2 separate regions of the Homo sapiens genome follow, and region 2 is linked to region 1. The links are contacts of gene promoters, found by promoter capture Hi-C in human tissues and cell types (Jung and others, 2019). All regions are on one chromosome and are shown on one strand. Each heading gives the region's core, a stretch centred on a gene start or on the middle of the fragment in contact. The rest is flanking DNA. Distances are from core to core; before and after follow the strand shown.

The links. The method cuts DNA at HindIII sites, captures the fragments that hold promoters and counts their contacts. A contact is called where the count stands out against the background at its distance.
Region 2: a fragment that was not itself captured here is called in contact with the fragment with the promoter of GRHL3 in region 1 in 1 of the 25 tissues and cell types used here (thymus).

The regions. Positions count from the first base shown.
Region 1 is chr1:24,316,394-24,323,531 of GRCh38, forward strand. GRHL3 (grainyhead like transcription factor 3) reads left to right here and starts at 2,964. Exons shown (of 16, transcript NM_198173.3): 1 at 2,964-3,175. The coding sequence starts at 3,159. GRHL3-AS1 (GRHL3 antisense RNA 1) reads right to left here and starts at 5,598. Exons shown (of 2, transcript NR_183722.1): 1 at 5,273-5,598. RefSeq lists a silencer at 5,497-5,636 and enhancers at 5,704-6,221, 6,222-6,737. The HindIII fragment of the contact is 14,571 bases long and covers 1,466-7,138 here.
Region 2 is chr1:24,490,985-24,498,122 of GRCh38, forward strand. RCAN3AS (RCAN3 antisense RNA) reads right to left here. Exons shown (of 2, transcript NR_144360.1): 2 at 5,270-5,612. Among named protein-coding and RNA genes, the nearest start is that of RCAN3AS, 7.8 kb to the right of the region's middle. The HindIII fragment of the contact is 3,516 bases long and covers 2,768-6,283 here.

The DNA of each region.
Region 1 (7,138 bases), core at 1,714-4,213:
ATAATGCACTTCACACGCATTATCTTTTAATCCTCACAATAACCCCATAAGGGAGGAATACAATTTTTATATACACTTTACAGGTGAGGAAACTGAGGCTCAAAGAGCTGTAGCCACTTGCCCGACATCATGTAGCTAGTTGGGCTGAGATTTGAAAGGAGGCCTGTGAGTCTCAGAACAATACTATCCTAACACATAGGTAAGTCTTAGCACAGTGCTTGCAAAATACAAACGCTAACTAAACAGCAGCCCTCATTATTTACTGTCATTATTGTGGATATAATTATTATGTTACAAGTAATTGGCTGGTCTCTGTTTATGTTTTTTTAAACTTTGTTTTTTTTTTTTTTTTTTGGAATAGCTGTTCTGTTTTAAATCTCCTCTGCAGAGGAACCAAGAGCTGTGCTGATCCATGAAGGGGAAGTAGGTGCCAGCCTTGCTCAGCCCCACAGGAGCAGGAAGGGGGCAGCAGCAAAGCACGGGGAGTGTCTCTTTAAAGGCCTGGCATCTCTGGGTTGTTGGGATGAAGGCCTAGAAAGCACTTGTACCTCCTGCCTGGGAGGTATAATTCCTACTGAGGGGCCTGGTGACCTTGCAAACTGGCTCATGGCGTTCCTGCCTACCTAGCCCAGACCACCGGTCCTTCTATCCCATCCGGGACACTTCTGTAGCCTTCCTGTGTGTGGAGACGTAGAAACCCTCTGCCCTGTGATTTGGGTCTCTGCTGATCTCTGAAGATGGGTGCGGGTGATGAAAGAGGCAAAACCTAGAGGCAGAGGGAGAGGACCCATTTTTAAAACCCCAGCGAGCACAGACACGCCACCTGGAATCCCAGCCTCCCCTGAGCCCAGTCAGCATGAGTCACCCCACAGCCCTTCACCTGTGGGTTGCAACACGGTTGACAGAAACTCCACAGCCTTCCATGAGGTGGGCAGACAGGTACATACAGAGGAGTGTGCCATCCTTTGGACTGCAATAAGCTTTGCAGTTACAGTTGGCACCAAATAGCCCTTCAGCCACCAATAAGCTCTGTGAAGTGGTTGGGCACCCAGGCTCTGCTCTCGGATTAAATCCCAGCTCTAGCTCTACCACTGCCTAGCTCTGCAGCTTGAGTAGTTTACTTCAGTATTCTGTACCTCAGTTTCCTCATCTATAAAATGGGGGTATCAAAAATGTCTATCTCCCAGGGTTGCTGTAAGGATTAGGCGACACAATGTATGCAAAGGCGCACAATGCCCGGTGCCTGTGGTATATGAAGCACCTACTAGGTGCCAGACACTGGAGATTCCACAGTGAGCGACACAAAGTCTTTGCTCTTATGGAATTTACATTCCAGAGGAAGGGGAGAAAGACAATAAACGATTAGAAAAATATCATAGGTCATATTACATTGTATCATAAGTCATAAGGGCTCTGCAGAGAACAAAAAGTAGTGTGATCCAGAGTGATTGAATGTCTACTTTATTAACAAGGGTGACTGAAGAGGGCTGCTCTGAGGAGGTGGCTTTATTAGCAATTATTTACTATTATTTATTAGGGTCCCCTGGGCTTCCCCCAACACAGCCTCCAGGGAGAAACCAATCTCTGAGAGTTCTCAAACCCAGTACCCCCTCTCCAGAGCCCTGACCCCACCCCAAGAGGGCTCCTTTGAATTCTGACTTTACCCTGAAAAACCTCCATAAATTGGCAGGGGTAGCTGAAACCTCACTTGCCGTTCCCAGAGAAGAGAGAGAGGAGTGGGCCAAGTTGAGGTTTCCAGGAAGACACAGCAAAGAGATAATTTGCCAAAAGGGGAAGGGTGGGGGAGGGGAGAATAGAAAGAGAGAGAGGGAAAAAAAGATGCCAAGATCTCTGGCTTAGATTTAATTTCAAACTAATCCTGGAAGAAGCTCTTTAAAAAGCTCTTACATTCTCCTGTTTGTGTTTGTGGATATTCTGGGGTTTACCAAGCTTGTTCTTTATAGTAGACAGCTCACAGCAATTACTCCACAATTACTTCATCTGACAGGCATTGAATTTCTCCCAAGTTCCCAATACAGAACGAAGCACTTGGAGCCTGTGAAATGACCAGCTGGCTGAGGCTTCAGAGGAGCCTTCAACTTTTCTATCCCTTCTGTGCTGACCAGAGGTATGTGGCTTGCCCACACCCCCTTCACACCCAATAAAAGCCTGTTCTCCTTTACTCCCCCACCCCCTGCCACCAACACACACCCCCCAGATTGTAAACTCCTTTAGAACAGTAACCCCTGTTTTTTCTGGCCTCAGTTTCTCCAGAACCCAGAGTAGGGTCTGGCACACAACGGGTGCTCAATGAATGTCTACTGAATTGAGGCCACTGACTTCAGCCCAAGGGGCAGCCAGACTTGGAGTGAGATGACTGCAGATTGGATCTGGGCTGGGACCTCGCTAGCTGTGCCCTTGGGCAAGGCACTTTGCCTCTCTGGCCTCCATTTCCTCCCTCATCTGTAAAATATGTGTTGAAGAGGAAGGGGGAAGCGATAATAAATCTACCACGGTAGGTTACTTTAAGAACCAAAAGAAGTCACTTGAGTAACTGCAAAAGATTATTCAAAAATATTACCTTAAAGGGGAAACTGAAAAAAAGGGAACTTATACAAAGATCTACCTGGGAAAAGTTGCTCTCTCCTTTGAGAATTCCCCAGTGGTACAGAAGGAGGGGGCAAAGAAATTTGGGGGTGGGGATGTTTCTGGGTATCTGGGACAATGACTAGAAACAGGAATCAAGTTTTCCTTTAAGCCAAGTTATCTGTTTGTCCCTGTACTTTTCCTCTAGTTATCTTGCTTCTTTCCAACATTTTCTTCTCCATCCCTCCTCCCTCATCTCCACCCCCCACCCCCTCACCAAGGAAGGAATTGGCCAGCTCCACCCAGCCAGTCCCCCATAGCTCCGCCCTCCTCGGCGGGCTAAGAGTTAACAGCTGCACCTGTTGAGGTATACCTCCAGTCGCCGGCACCTGTACCTGTAGCCAATCAGCGCCAGCGCTGCTGGGAACCTACCTGTCAGCAAAATCTCGACACCCAAACCTCAACATAAATCAAACACTTTCCCGGGCAGAGAATGTCTGTGTCAGGCAAGAATTAGAGACAAGCGGTCAGCAGAGCCTCAGTGCTGATCGTCGGAGCTTGGGAGCAGGAAGATGTCGAATGAACTTGAGTGAGTAAACATCGGTGGATACCTGCCGCTCTCAGAGCGTGGAGGCTGGATGGGGTTTCCTGGAGGGGGAAGAGCGGGGAGGCCGGCACCGGGATTCACAGAGCAATTTGTAAGGGTAAATGAATGGGCTGACGATCTTACTTTGGCGTGTCAAGGCAAGCCCCAGTCTCAAGCTAGAGGTGAGTGTTTCCCTGGGAAAATAGTTTTTCTCATTCTCTTTGCTGAGCAGTTTCGAGCCAGGCAGGGAAACACAAGACTGAAACTGTGAAGGTTTCTGGCACCACTTTTTGATCCTCTGAAGGGGCCTTGGAAATCAGACGACCCCAATCCCATCGAGGCTTTCTATCTTCTTGCCAAAAGGAACTTCTTTAAGGTAGTTCTAAGAGCTGTCTTAGGCAGAGAGTTGGGTTTCTCTAAAGGGACTTGTTTGCTGGGTTGGAACAGTCCCAAGTGGGAAGGTTACAGTGTGGTGGTTAAGCATGTGTACTCTTTGTAGTGGGCTTGACCTAAGTTCAAATCCAGGCTCTGTCCCTGGGTGATCTCAGACAAGACATTCAATTTTTCTGGGCTTCATTTTCCTCATCTGGAAAATGGGTACAAGAATGCTTTGTAGAATTCTGGAAAGAGTTAAGTGTGATAAATGCTGTAAAATGCTTAGCATAAAGCTATGGTCTGAAGATGCGTTCAGTAAAATGTGGTTCCTCTCATTCAGAGGCAGTTCTAAGGCTGGGGAAGATGAGAAGTGATTTTTGGTAGGTCACCTCTTTTGGCTGGGAGGATGCATGTGCCTTCCTGCCCACATCTGAGATTTAAGATCCTGACTGACTGATGCTGATCTTCACCATGATGTCCTTCTTGGGGTCCAGACCTTAGAGAAGGTAGGGTGAGGCTGGGATCTGGGCTGCTTTAGATTGGGTTCAGGGAGCTGGCAGGAGAAGCCAGAATCCTTTAAACACAGGCTCTCCTTTTCCTGCCACCCTCAGAGGTGAGTGGGCAGAGGCAAGGATTGTACCATCTTTTTTCTAACTGCTCCTCAACAGACTTTTAAGAACTTGAAGATCTGTGGGCAGACAGCAGTGCTAGGTCCTGACTGCAGACCGGATTCTATGTTCTAGCTAGCCCTTCAGCTCTTCATGTTCACAGCACAATCACTTGGGTTAACAGGCACATTTCTTTTGAATGAATTTCCCGGGGTTGACAATGTATTGACAATTGGACCGCAATGAGAATAAGAGCAGGAGCATTGGTACTGACACCTGGGTTCAAGTCCCAGCTCTAGCACTTATAGCTGTGTGATGTTGAGCAAGTCCCTTAATCCTCATCTGTAAATAGTGGCCAACAGTAGTATCCACCTCATGGGGTTGTTAGAGGATTTGACAATTTTAGAATAGTGATTGCTTTTAAGGCTGGTGGAGAACACACCAGTAACACCATTGTCATTTCATGTAGAACTAACCAATCAATGAGCATTCCCAAACCTCTTGCTATTTTTCCATACTTTGAACGCGCAAAAAAATCTTGACATGTGTCTCCATCCCACTTAAATTTGCTGGCTAAAACTGCGGAGGCTACAGACAGAATCTATTCATTACTGCACGTTAGGGGGTATGTGTTCTGAAGCTGGGTTACTTGAACAGAAAGGTTTCTTGCTTTTCTCCTCCCTAATGGTTTGGATTTGAAGTCAGATCCGCTGACAGTTGAGGCTTCTCAGTTTGGGGTGGGGTGAGGGAAGCCAGTTGCCTGCTGAGTAATTGCAGGCGGACTCCAAGCCACCATTTGAGATTACAGTGGCAGAGCCTGGGGGCTCAGCTGCCCCTACTGGTAAGGGGAGGGCACCCGGCGCTTGGCTTGCAAGTTCTGAGCTGCTGTTGCTTCTGCGGCCTCGACATTCTCCTAAAAAGTGCCAAGTTAAGAGGACTGGCCATAGCTTACAGCTTGGGCCCTCATGGAATGGCCAACTCTGGCCAGGCCTTGATATAGTGGCAAAAGTGGGACTTGCCTGTCACTCTAAATTCTGCCACTTACCAACAGCAGGATCCTGGTGAATTTGTTTGTCCTCCCTGACCCTCAGTCTGCTCATCTGTCTGTAACACCTACCTGGCAGGAACAACTGTGAGCTCCCAAATGTGGACCAGAGCTCCATCCGCGCCCGCCCGGTGGCCAGGCCCCGGGTGTAAGGCGGCACTTCGAAGGCTGGTCTCTGAGAAGCATGGAGGCCCCGGCGGTGTAGTTAGAAACCAGCTGGAGGTGGCTGGCGGGTGCTGAGCGCCGGGCCTTTCATGTGGTCGCAGCGCTCTGGGTGCCTGGAGCCCGCAGCCCTGGGCAGCCCCGGGCTACCGCAGGGCGCAAGGGATCCTGGGCTGCGGCCGAGGGCGCCGGAAGTCGCCGCCGACCGCCTGGGTCTCGCAGGAAAACAGCCGGCGCCCGCGAGCTGCCCAGCGTCGGGTTTTCCTGAAGGTGCGTCGGGGCCCCCGGGGAGCTGGAGCCGCAGGCGACCTCCCCGGTGACCTGTTGTTCCCCTCTGGAGGGCCGGCCGGCGCTCCAGGCAGGCCCCGTTGACAGCCCAGGAAGGGAGAGTTTCGCCGCAAAGGGGCTTGGCACACAGTAGGTCTAAGGCACCGAGGCAGGAGCGTCCCCCGCGGCCTCGCTCCCTGCTCTCTGGGCCCCACCGCTGCCGCCTGGAGTCTCCCCTCAGCCTCGCAGAGACGCGACTCGGTTGGGGGAAGGGGACTAGAACCGTCGCAGTCCTGACCGCGGCCGCCGCCGCCGTTCTATCTGATCTCCAGGAGCGCCGGCTCCAGACTGCCTGGAGCGCTGAAAGAGTTAATCAGGAACGCCTCCCCGCTGTGGTTTTGTGGTCGAAACCATGATTGCCAGGAGCAAATTTTTGTCGTGCACGAGGTGTGTTATTAAAAGTCGGAGCTACGCTGCTGCTGAATGAAAAGTTAAAAGCCCTCTTTGAGTTCGGGCTGTAAAACTGGCGGACTGGGCCGAGAGGCTTGAGCCAACCCTAACGGCGGCGGCCCGGGCGGCGCGGGGGTCCTGCGGCTCCGCCAGCTGCTGGGAGCGGGCAGGCTGCGCAGTCCCAGCAGTGAGTGGCCGCAGCCAGGCGGTCGGCAGAGCTCCCACTGACCCACCGGAGGAGTGAAGAGGGAAAACGGGGCTGAAACCCAGATGGGATCATCCAGCTTTCTCTTACGTTAGAACAAAAATGACAGCCAACATTTATGGAGCGCTGACTCCGCATCTGACATTGTGTCGAGTGCTTGATAAATACACGCTCTTCTTTAAACCCTCCCAACAAACTAATGCGGGATGGGAGTGTAAATGCAGTTTTGCCGAAGAGGGGACCCAGACCTGGTTCAGGCTTGCCCAAGGTCTCACGGAAGCACTGGGATCTTAACCGGGTCTTAGCCGAGCAGCCATAGGCCACCCCGCTTCCTCTGTGCTTAGCCTCTGAAAAGAAGACAGAGGAGATGTGCCAAACTGTTAAGAGTGGTTATTTCTGAGCAGAAGAATGTGGATGAATTCCATTCTTCCTATTTTTCTGTAGGTTCTACATGTTATATATTTGTTGTATTTTACAAACCTATGTTACCTTTGGAGTCGTTAAGGGGAAGAGAGGGAGTCATTATTTTGAAAGAGAACACCTAGAACAGTGTTCTCAAACTGTGGTCCGTGGACCATCATCATCATCATCATCACCTGGGAACTAGTTAAAAATGCAAATTCTCAGCCCCACCCTAGACCTACTGAATCAGAAACTGGGGGTATGGCTCAGCGTTATGTGTTTTCACAGGCCCTCCAGGTGATTCTGATGCGTGTCCAAGTTGTAAAACTGTTGGCCTAGAAGACCAGGCAGAGGACTGGGAAGCAGGAGGTTCCCAAATCCACTACTGACCTGCAGTGTAGTTGCTGAGTCAGCAGGCTGAGAGCTTAGTTCCAAGATCACACCTGTGTTTT
Region 2 (7,138 bases), core at 3,276-5,775, 180 kb after region 1:
AACACCACGAGGGTCTGCGGCTTCATTCCTGAAGTCATGTTGAAGTCAGCGAGACCAAGAACCCACCAATTCTGGACACACTAGGAATGGACATAGCTCTCTAAAGTTGCTACCACCATGATTCTTTCGAGTTTTACCTGTTCAGTTACTCTGGTAATAGCTTTATGTCTAAGTAACAAATTCTTTTTTCTTGTTTGAGAGGAGATCTCACTCTGTTGCCCAGGCTGCAGTGCAGTGGTACGATCACAGCTCATTGCAACCTTGAACTCCTGGGTGTACGGAATCTTCATACCTCAGCCTTCTGAATGGCCAGGACTACCCATACACGCCACCACACCTGGCTAATTAAAATTTTTTTTTCGCAGAGATGGGGTGTCTGTTGCCAAGGCTGGTCTCGAACTCCTGGCCTTGAGGGATAGTCTCTTGCCTGGGCCTCCCAAAATTCTAGGATTACAGGCACAAGCCACTGCTCCTGGCCAACAATTCTTTATATTAAATTCTTTCTGTTTAACTCACTAATGTGATTTCTGTCTCTTCACTAAACCCTGATGGACACTTGAGAAAACTCAGACTCATTTGAATCGGTGGGCTGCTCAAGCCGCTGCCCATTTTTAATGTTCCATTTTCTCCTTTGCTCTCTGCCTGCCCCTTCTTCCTTCTGATTATGGCCATCTAGCTCTTATTTTTCACCATCTGCAGCTGAAGTTAATCAGGAAATAATATCTCCTCCCCCCAAATTCCAGGATTGCAACGTTTAAAGAGCAGCTCCTTCCAGTGTGGACCCGTAAGTACTGATGCCCTCGAAGATAACGGATCTGTAGTTAATTCAGCAGCTTCCGAATCTTTGGGCAAATGGGATTGAGTCTTTCTAATTTAGAGCAACACTGCAAGATGAAATCTCACCCAGCATCCAGGCTTGCAAACATGCTGAAGACATATTTCCATGCCCGATCTTCAAAATTATGCAAGAGTGTCTTTTTTTTTTTTTAAGACATGTTTCTTTTTAATGAAAATGCAATAGTTACTGATTGCCAACCTTGTTATTGAAAGTTTATACTTTTCTAGGTGCTGTCACAAACGGTTCATTTGAGCCCCCAAACCATCTTAGAAGGGCAGTACCACTTATTTCCACTGAGCTGAAGAGAGCCAGGCTTAAAGAATGTGAGGTTTGCTCGATGTTAAACAGCCACTTGTAGTTAGTAGCGCGAGCAGGATGGGAGCCCGAGTGTTCTGAAGATGTGAAGACTTTCAAGGAAAATGCCTGCAGCTTTGGTGAGATTGTGGAAAGGGGGCAGAGTCGAGGCGGGGGCGGGGGCTGGGAGGAGGCAGGTAGAAATTGATACAACCTTTCTGAAAAGTATTTGGAAATATGTGTACCAACATTCCCTTCCAGATAATAAAACCATTTCTATTAACAGCTAGATCAATGCAACAGAATAAATCATCCGGAAATACATATGTAGTATGTTCTTATATATTCAATCTTCAATTTTCTTTTTTTAAATTTTTTATTGAGATAGGGTCTCACTCTGTCACCCAGGCTGGAGCTCAGTGGCTCACTGCAAGCTTCACCTCCCCAGTGATCCTCCCACCTCAGCCTCCTAAGAGCTGGGACCACAGGCACATGCTACCATGCCTGACTAGTTTGTGTGTGTGTGTGTGTGTGTGTGTGTGTGTGTGTGTCTTTAGTAGACATGGGGTTTCAGCAAGTTACCCAAGCTGGTCTCAAACTCCTGGACTCAAGCAATCTGCCTGCCTCAGCCTCCCAAAGTGCTGGGATTACAGGTGGGAGCCACCACGCCCTGCCCAGGTCCCTAATTTTTGATAGTTCAACTTACAATTTTTCCATTTTGCAATGGTGTGAAAACATAACGCATTCAGTAGAAACTGTACTTTGAGTACCCACACAACTATTCTGCCTTCACTTTCAGTACCATCACCAATAAGTTACATGAGCTATCCAACACTTCATAAAATAGACTTTGTGTTAGATGATTTTGCCCAACTGTAGGCTAACGTAAGTGCTCTGAGCATGCTTCGGGTAGGCTATGATGTTTACTAGGTTACGTATATGGTATTAAATACATTTATGGGCTGGGCAAGGTGGCTCACACCTGCAATCCCAGCACTTTAGGAGGCCGAGGCGGGTGAATCACTTGAGGTCAGAAGTTCAAGGCCAGCGTGGCCAACATGGTGAAACCTCGTCTCTACTAAAAATACAAAAATTAGCCTGGTGTGGTGGTATGTGCCTGTAGTCCCAGCTACTCGGGAGGCTGAGACAGGAGAGTCACTTAACCCAGGAGGCAGAGGTTGCACTAAGCCGAGGTCACACCCCTGCACTCCAGCCTGGGTAAAAGAGCGAGACTGCATCTCTAAATAAATAAATACACTTATGACTTAACGATATTTTCAACTTACAATGGATTTATCAGAACATAACCCATCATAAGTCAAGGAGCATCTATAGTAAATTGTATATATATGAAGCAGTGGGTTCTTTAATTATTAATGTTAGAACCACTGGAAATAGTATTTAAGTTTGAGGCTTACCTTGACTTACATGGTGTTACATCTTGATAAACCCTGTCTCCAAAAAAAGAAAGGTCATGATTAATCAGACTTCAGCAAGCTAAGAGATCATAAAGTACAAGATGAATACACTGTATACAAATAATTGTTTTCTGAGGATCTCACCCTGTCACCCAGGCTGGAGTGCAGCAGTGTGATCACAGCTCACTGCAGCTTCAACCTTCCTGGGCTCAAGTGATCCTCCTACCTCAGCCTCTTGAGTAGCTGGGACCACAGGTGCCTGCCACTATGCCCAGGCTAATTTTTTTTTTTTTGGTAAAGATTGAGGGGTTGCCATGTTGCCCAGGGTGGTCTTGAACCCCTGGGCTCAAGTGATTCTCCCTCCTGGACCTCCCAAAGTGGTAGGATTATATGGGTTTTTTGTTTGTTTTGAGACAAGGTCTCAAAACACTGTCACCCAGGCTGGAGTACAGTGGTGCAATCATGGCTCACTGCAGCCTTGACCTCCTGGGCTCAAGCGATGCTCCCACCTCAGCCTCCTGAGTAGCTGGGAGCAAAGGTGTGTGCCATCACACCCAGCCAATTTTTTTATTTTTTGTAGCGACAAGATTTCACTGTGTTTACCCAGGCTGATCTCCAACTCCTGGACCCAAGCAGTCCTCTTGCCTCGGCCTCCCAAATTGTTGGGATTACAGGCATGAGCCACCACGCCTGGCCAAATAAAATTTTTAAAACATCTTTATATCAAAAAGAATTTTCGAAAGGGAAATTATGAAGAGAAAATTTTCAACAAATGTAATCACAGGGTTACTATCCACAGTGTATAAGATGTTTTTATAAACAAACGATGCTAATAGCTCAGTGGAAGAATGCACAGAGAACTTGGGCAGATCTCAAATGAAGCATTTGTGAAAAATCAAGATGTCATGTTTGGGGAGGTTTTTGTTTTTGTTTTTTGCCTATCAATCAGGAAAGGCATTTATAATTAAATAGAGTAACAACCTTTTTGAAATGCATTTTGTCATTTTCCAGTAAGAGTTTTTTTAAATGTTCATGCCCCTTGCCTAGTAACTGCTTCTGGGAATCTATGCTGAGGAAATAATCATAAATGCAACAGCATATTTTACATATAAAGGTATTCATCGTATGGTTAATTATGTAAGAGAAAATTGGAATGAAACTTTGATTACAACAATAAGGAAATAATTAGATAAATAACACAATGCAATATTATGTAGTCATTAAAAATTAAATAGTATTTTAAAGCACAAGATAATGTTTGCAATATGTTAAGTGAAATAGGTAAGAGATCCAAATTGGCTGATTCTAATGGTATACTAATCTTACCCAAAAAATTGGAGAGAAACACTGTATACTAAAATATTGAATAGTGACTCTGAACTCCAAAAATCTAAGACAGTTCTCAGTTAATTTAGAAAGCTTATTTTGCCAAGGTTGGGCCGGGCGTGGTGGCTCACATCTGTAATTCCAGCACTTTGGGAGGCTGAGGCAGGCAGATCACGAGGTCAGGAGATCGAGACCACCCTGGCTAACACGGTGAAACCCCGTCTCTACTAAAAATACAAAAAAATTAGCCGGGCGTGGTGGCGGGCACCTATATTTCCAGCTACTCGGGAGGCTGAGGCAGGAGAATAGCTTGAACCCAGGAGGCGGAGCTTGCAGTGAGCCGAGATTGCGCCACTGCACTCCAGCCTGGGCGACAGGGTGAGACTCCATCTCAAAAAAAAAAAAAAGTATTTTGCCAAGGTTGAAGACACATGCCCATGACACAGCCTCAGGAGGTCCTGACAACGTGTGCCCAAGGTGGGTCAGAGCACACTTTGGTTTTATACATTTTAGGGAGTCATGAGACATCAACCAACATATGTAAGATGAACACTGATTGGTCCGGAAAGGCAGGACAACTTGAAGCGGGGAAGGGGCTTCCAGGTCATAGGTAGGTAAGAGACAAATGGCTGCATTCCTTTGAGTTTCTGATTAGCCTCTCCAAAGGATGCAATCAGATATACATCTATCTGTGAGCAGAAGGGTGACTTTGAATAGAATGGGAAGCAGGTTTGCCCTGAGCAGTTCCCAGCTTGATTTTTCCCTTTGGCTTAGTGATTTGGGGGACCCAAGATATTTTCCTTGCACATGACTATCTCTGGATCCTGGGATTGTACGTGATTTGAATTTTTTAATTTATCTTTTTGTTTTCAAATGTTCTATAAAAGCCAAGTCCAATTTTTATGAGAAAATTTTAAATATCAAAAATCGACATGACTCATCTCCCAACCAATGTTGGATGTGGGGCTGATAAGTTTCACTCCTCCAGCAAACTATTGGATCGTGTTGCAACTCTCTTCTTGGGGGAATGGCTGACTTGCCAGGAATGGGAGACAAATGAGGGTGTTACCAGGGAGGCAGGTTAATTTAAGGCTCTTCAGGAAAAGGTACCATCTGTGATGCAAATCCCATAGGAGATCTAGAGTGTGGTAGAACATGAATTAAAATATCCAGCACACCCAGATGCATATTAATGAGTCTGAGATAGAGATCGATCGATATGCAGTGATTTCTCTCCTCATCAGAAGCAGCTCCGTTTCCTCTCAACCTTTCACTCTGCTACATTTATTGTGCACTTACCACCTACCAGAACCAGATGTTGTTACAGGAGCTGGGAATACATCCATGAACAGACTAATCCCTGCCCCCATGGAACTGATATTCTACTTGGGACTTAGGCATTAAACCAGTAATTGCATAATTATTTTATTAATTACAATTGTGATAGATGCTTTGTAGAAGTACTACAGGGAGCCATGGAATCATTTACAGTGAATATCAGTTGGGATTGTGTTTGGCTGCAACAGACACCTAACAAGATCCAAGAATATTTCTTTACCATATGAAGGCAGTATAGATGGAGGAACCCAGGGCTGGTATGGCAGTTCTGGTGTCACAGGGGATACAGGCTCCTCATCTTTTGGATTCACCATCCCAACATGTGGCTTCCATCTTCAAGGCTACCTCCTGGTCCAGAATGGCTGCCGGAGCTCCAGCCATCGTGTTCACATTGCAGGCTAGAAGAAAGAACAGCAAAAGGTTGGGCTGGGCGTGGTGGCTCACGCCTGTAATCCTAGCACTTTGGGAGCCTGAGATGGGCAGATCACAAGGTCAGGAGTTCGAGACCAGCCTGGCCAACATGGTGAAACCCTGTCTCTACTAAAAATACAAAAATTAGCCAGACATGGTGGCACATGCCTATAATCCTAGCTACTCAAGAGGCTGAGACAGGAAAATTGCTTGAACCCAGGAGGCAGAGGTTGCAGTGAGCCTAGATTGTGCCACTGCACTCCAGCCTGGGCAACAGAGTGAGACTCCATCTCAAAAAAAAACAAAAAACAAAAAAAAAAAAACAAAAGGGTACCTCTGCCAGCCAAGTCAGCCTCCCTCTGCTTATATCTCACTGGGCAAAAGTAAAATTTTCCTTGTAAACTGATTATAAACCAGCTCATGTTTCCCGAGCATCTGCAATGTGTCTGGCACTTTACAAAACAACTTTGCAAGGCGGTATCATCAATTCTATTTAACTTTGGGAGGCTGAGGTTGGAGGGTCGCTTGAGCCCAGGAGTTTGAGACCATCCTGGGCAACAAAAGCGAGACCTTGCTTGTAAATTATAAAAATAATTTAAAAAATCCACTTAACAGATGAGAAAAGTAAGGCTTCACAGGTTTAAAGAACTTGCCCAAAAATCACACAGCCAGTCAGTGGTAGCGCTGACTTCCTGGAGCCCATACTCTTTCCATTGTACTTTTCTGCCTTCCCATCAGCAACTGAAAACGAAGCAAGAAAGCTCCTCAGATTTGTCATAGACTATATTTAAAGAAAGGCCACATTTTTCTTATTTAAAATGCATTAAACAATGCAACCAATTAAAAGAACTGAGATGGATTTGTACAAAAGCAGGGACTAGGTCTGTTTTGTTCACTGCTATATTCCCAATGCCTAGAACCATGTCTGGCAAACATACTGGCATGGGAAGAACATTTCCATAACCCCTGAATGTTCTGTGCCCCTTTCCAATTAATCCCTACCCTCAGAAGCAACCACTATTCTCATGCTTATTACATTAGTTTTGCCTCTTCTTGACTTTCATATAAATGAAATCATACATCTATGCGTTTTGACTTCTTTTGCTCAACAATTGCTTTTGAGATTTATCCGTTGTTATGTGTATCAACATTTCATGATTTTTTTTTATTGCTGTGTAGTATTATATTGTTTGAATATACCATGGTTTTCTTATCCATTCCTCTTGTGGACATTTGGGATATTTACAGTTGGAGAATAGTATGATTAAATATTTTGTGTTGTTGATTTGTTTTTGTTTTTTTGAGATGGGAGTCTCTTTTGCTCAGGCTTGAATGCAGTGACACAATCTCGGCTCACTGCAACCTCTGTCTCTCGGGTTCAAGCCATTCTCCCACCTCAGCCTCCCAAGTCACTGGGATTACAGGCACCCGTCACCACACCTGGCTAATTTTTGTATTTTTAGTAGAGACAGGGTTTCATTATGTTGCCCAGGCTGGTCTCAAACCCTAACCC